Linked DNA regions of Homo sapiens: region 2 is linked to region 1. Evidence: promoter capture Hi-C in human tissues and cell types (Jung and others, 2019). All regions are on one chromosome and are shown on one strand. Each heading gives the region's core, a stretch centred on a gene start or on the middle of the fragment in contact. The rest is flanking DNA. Distances are from core to core; before and after follow the strand shown. Region 1 holds the start of ARHGAP18 (Rho GTPase activating protein 18). Region 2 has its middle 29 kb from the start of L3MBTL3.

Region 1 (2,700 bases), core at 61-2,560:
ATGGTAACACAGCTAAGGCACAAGCACCAAATCTTTTTTATCTTTGGAAATGAATTCATTCAATGAAATACATACTGTGGATGCTATGTGAGAAACAGTTCCCGTCAGCTGGGAGTCTAACACTGAGTATTACAGCCATTCCTTTGATTTTTCTCCCTCCCTCATATTTGGAGATTTTAAAACAAATGAAAGGCAGCATTATTTCAGCTTAAGGCACAGGCATAAGTCACATAAGAACAAAGAAGGTTTTATTATCACATTAAGCATTGAGGAGGAAATGTGCTTACCGATAACTAATTTAGTGTTCTAGGCTATTAGGTTAGTATTTGCTTCTTGCAATCTTCTAGGCCAATATTTACTATTTATATCTTGATGGAGGTAAAAATGTTCAGCTAGTGAGAAGGTCATTAAGGAGAGAAAGAAAAAAAAAAGCCCTTGGAAAATGGAACAAAGTACACAGATAGGGAGAAAGGTACCCTTTGCGCCTCAGTGGTCTATAGAACATTTGCCCTCTCTGCCTATAAAGTGATTTAACATTAACCACATTTCACTCCAGCAGCAGAGTGCTATCTCCTGACAAAAACTCCTTTTTGAAAGCCTGGGGGAAAAAAAATCCACATACACAAAAGAATGTGAAACATATTGCCACAGGCCAGTGTCTTGGGCTTTTTGCCTAAGAGGTTTGCTTTCAGCAAAGAGAGGGGGGAAAAAAAACACTCTAACAACAACAGCTTGTACAGTACAGTGAACAGCCTCCCTGCTTTTTGGCAGACTTTCCCAGCGAACAGTTCCAGTGGCAGTGCCTTGAGCCCATTCAAGAATTCCATTTCATAGGAAAGGAAGTGTTTCAGATAGACCTATTTGATCTTTCAGCATGTGCAAATGCACCTGCTAAATAGCTAGTCTGACAGCCCATATAGCCCTCTCCCCAGTTCCTTCTTCTCTGTCTTCACCAGTAATCATATGGGTTATTTCAGACTTGGACTAGGTGAGATGAAAAGTACATAAAAATCACGCCAAACGTTGCTACTGCTGCTGCACGAGCTCAGGCTCGACGTGCAGATGGAATTCCCTTCTCCCCACGCCAACTTCCCTGTCACTTTCTTCCTGGAGCAGGTAAGAGGGTTTTGTTTTGTTTTCAGCTTCCGAAGGCTTACCTCGAGGTGGCTTCCTCCCCTGCCTTTGCATGGCTGTTCCCGACGGTCTGGTCCTTGCCGCTGGGGTGGTAGGCTGTTAGTACCACTCCCTGGGAACTGGAGAGCCAGCTCATGGTGAGAGAAGGGACATACTTTCTGCGATCCTGACACAGAGAAGGGGAAAGAAGTTCCTGTCTCGCCTGGCAACTCGCTCATTAGCATTGGCCAGCTCCTCCCCGCAGGCTGGCGATTCACACGGGGAGGGGCGGGGTCTGTCCAGGGAAGGGCTTCCTGCCTCTCCAATTAGAAGCTGCAACTCACAGCATGGTTTCAACTCTGGACAATTGCACTCTGGGCGGCTTTGGTTAAAGGAGGCGAAGGGTGGAAGCGACGGGTTGCACCCACCCCCAAGTTAGTCTGATCAGATTAAACTGCCAGAACGTATATTCAACTCATCACTGTAACTACAAGCCGTCTTACTTAGGAAACCATGAGTTGCTGCCAAGGCTTTTTTTTTTCCCTCCCCAATTCCTCTATCTTATAATTTCTGCTACTTAATGTAACATGAGTAAAGGCATTTCTTAACCCCTTCATGTTCAGCGTTAAAATTAGCCATAGTAAAAAACAACGAACCCGCGGCAAAACTCTGCAATCCAGACGACGAGAAAGGCTTGATCCTTGTGTCCGGTTAAAAATGCCCTCATAAAAATTGTGTGTCCTGGAATGTCGTCGTCTTTCACATAAAGCCAATCTCAAATATACGTCTTGTTTTAGCAAAATATTTTTCAGCACCAAAAAGGGATAGACCTACCAATGCTCTGTTAAGTGTTATTGCTGAGAACAAGAGAAGTCCCTGCCATTTGTTGAGCACCTACTATATGCCAAGCTCTCATGGACGGGGGTTTCACATGTATTATCTCATTCCATTCAATTCTCTCTCTCTCACACACACACACACACCGTACAAGATAGGTATCACTATCATCTGTGTTATACATAACACAAGGAAAGTAAGGCTGAGGGACGAGTTAAGTAACTTCACTAAGATAACACAGTTGCTAGTGCCAGAAGCTGGATTTGAACAGAATTCTAGGCTACATTCCTTTTATTTTTCACCAGTATGCTCTTCTTTGTTTTGCAGATTAAGAAACAAGATCAAAATTATCATAAACACAAAAGACAGCTCTGTTCTTTCTCCCCATCTCCCCTCCAAAAAAAAAAATCACTTTTTTGGTTTGTTTTTGAATCAGGGTCTCACTCTGTCACCCAGGCTGGAGTACAGTGGTGATTGTAACTCACTGCAGCCTCAACCTCCCAGGCTCAAGAAATCCTCCAGCCTCAGCCTCCCCAATAGCTAAGACCACAGGCATGCACTACCACGCCCAGCTAATTTTTTTATGCTTTGTGGAGAGGGAGGGTCTCACTGTGTTGCCCAGGCTGGTCTTGAACTCCTGGGCTCAAGCAATCCTCTTGGCTCAAGCTCCCAAAGTATTGAGATTACAGGCATGAGCCACCACGCCTGGCTTCTACTCTGACATACCCAGTAGTCTGAAGGTTTTTTTAG
Region 2 (2,700 bases), core at 193-2,692, 280 kb after region 1:
TTTTCAGTTAGTGATACAGATAATCATTGTATGAATTCATTGTATGAATATATATATATACACACACACATATATATACACATACATACACACAAATATACAGACATATACACACAAATTAAGTATAATAAATCTATACACAATATACTATCTTGTAACAAGACTCTAGGTTCTATGCCAGCTCTAACAAGACTAATGTCATATTGGACAAGCAAGTTAACAAACAATAATTTTTGTATCTATAAAACAAGACATCTGAACTACGATTCCTTTCAATTCTAAAACCTTATATACTAAAAAATGTCTAAAGTCCCTTCCTAATTTTCAGTCATTCACTATATATATTCTTTCTTTCACTAATTTTGAATGTGCATTGTTAACCAATTACAGATCTGTAAGTCTATAATTGGTTAATAATGCAGATCTATAAAGATAATTCTTTATAGATCTATAATGTAGATCTATAAAGAGAGTTCCAAATTATCTCAAACAAAAAATTTCAATTCATTCATTCACTCATTAAACTCATTGATTGGCATCACCTATGTATTATATAAGTAACTATGCTAGGTTCTAGACATCAACACAAACTTCACCCCTGACATCATGGAATTTATTAGGTGTAGGGGGTAGGAAAGAATATTTCTGATTTGGTAGGAAAATAAAGAATTCAGTTTTGGTAGGTTAAGTTTGAGATGCCTGAGACACATCCCAGTGGAACTGGCACGTAAAATAAATTAGGGAGGCATCACCTGTTAGACAATAGTTTTTAAAACCATGAGACTGAATATGGTCAACTTGAGAGAGTGAGTACAGTGAGAAGGAAAGAGACAAAAGGTCTAAGTTTTCATGAAAATTAAGATTTAGAGGTTAGGCATAGGAAGAGGAGCTAACAACACTGAGATTGCTACACAGAGCATAAAATAAAAATCCTAAGTGTGTAGTCTATCAAGTATATCAAAAAAAGGGAATGGTCCAGTGTATCTAATTAAATTTTTAAAATCCCTTGGATTTGAAAAAAACTAACGTCATTGATGCACTTGGCAAATGCAGTTTAGTGTGCTGGTTGAAGCAGAGACAAGGTTGGAGTGGATTGAGTAGGAATGGAGGGTGAAAGCCTAGAGACTGTGCAGATAATCATACAGAGGAAATCTGTGGTAGAGGGAAGGAAATATAGGTTTGACAGGTTTGTTCTTGTTGTTGTTTCCTTTTTACTGTGATTGTTTCATTTTTATTTTTTGTTTAAGGTGAGTGATATTAGGACTGAAGGGATGTTGAAGATGAGCAAGAGAGAGGAAGAGAATGGATGGAGAGGACTCTTAGAAGGCAGGAGCACTGGCTCTCAAAGCAGAACGGAAGGATTGGCCTTTGACATTTGAAAGGGCCTAAAAGCAGTGGAGGGGACATGATGAAGCTAAGTTGCTAAGGATGGAGAAAGAAAGAAGAGGTAGCATGTCAGAGAGTTTAGGAGCTGGAACCAGGCTGGAATCCAACTTCTTCCATTTATTGTAAGTGTGGTCAAGTTATGCTCTTTCTAGACTTCAAGTTCTTCACCTATAAAATGCAGGGAAAGTATCACCTATGTTATAGATTTGTCATGTGAATTTTTAAATGAGTTAATATTTATAAGAGCACTTAAACCATGTCCAACACATACCAAGTGTCATAGAGGTGGTATCTATTATATCAGTGTGTTTTGATAAATAGGGTCCTGTTTGATGGCTTCTATTTTCTCCAAGAAATGAGATGAAGATGAAAAAATTGTCAACCTTTCTAAAATGTAAAATCATGTATAAGTAAACAATGAGAAAAAAAAATTTCCATTAAATTGCTGAAGGTTTAAAAACTGTAATACCCAGTATTGGTGATGGTGGGGTGTATCAGGCCTCTTTCTCCATGGCTGGTGAAAGCATAAATGTGTACATCCCCTGCCCTACAAAAGGCAATTTGGTAATATAGATCACAAGATTTTACCAACCTGTAAAACAGAGGTCCTCAGAGGAGGGGTGTGTATGGTAAAGAGAAGTGGAAAGTCTGGCCTGAGAAAGCAAGTCAGTTATATTCAACTCCATGCCCAGCTCCCTGATTGGTGACACTCTCAAGTCCTCCCCATGGTTCCTGTTAACTCCCAGGTTTATGCTCGATGGTGTAATTGGCCTCAGGCTGTATGCTGTTTTTGTTTCTCTGTGTAACAGTTCATCTTCTTCACAAGTCTCCAATAGAAATCCACTCACAGGGAGGGGGCCGCATCCTGCATCCTTGAAGCACACATTTTTATGTCTTATTTCCCTGCCTTATTTTCCCCCAATTGCCTCTGGGGGTTCAAAATTCTGTGTTGCGCAGAGCATTTTAGCTCTTTCAAATTTCGTATTCCAGAGTTGATACCAAACCCTTCAAGGTACCCAGGAGAGTACTCTAATACCTGCTGTTCTTAGAAGGGTTATCAATGGCAAAATTTTACTACTGCCTCGGCAATTCCACTTCCAGAACTTATCTCAAGATATCAAATACTCATTTTAGTATTATAACTGCCAAAACATTGTACATTTAAATACTTAACAAAAGGGATTAATAAATCATGATATGTGTTACATGGTAGAATGTTACCGGACTACTAAAATATGATTTTGGAAAGCATTTAATATGGGGAATTTTTTGCAATGCTTAAAAAAAATACACTGAGGTACAAAGAATAAAACA

Evidence for each region. Contacts are between HindIII fragments. The study calls those that stand out against the background at their distance.
Region 2: a contact is called between a fragment that was not itself captured here and the fragment with the promoter of ARHGAP18 in region 1, in 2 of the 25 tissues and cell types used here (IMR-90 fibroblasts and aorta).

Annotation. Positions count from the first base shown.
Region 1 is chr6:129,708,867-129,711,566 of GRCh38, forward strand. ARHGAP18 (Rho GTPase activating protein 18) reads right to left here and starts at 1,311. Exons shown (of 15, transcript NM_033515.3): 1 at 1,158-1,311. The coding sequence starts at 1,270. RefSeq lists a silencer at 1,585-1,664. The HindIII fragment of the contact is 16,000 bases long and covers 1-2,700 here.
Region 2 is chr6:129,988,452-129,991,151 of GRCh38, forward strand. No RefSeq gene overlaps it. Among named protein-coding and RNA genes, the nearest start is that of L3MBTL3, 29 kb to the right of the region's middle. The HindIII fragment of the contact is 7,110 bases long and covers 1-2,700 here.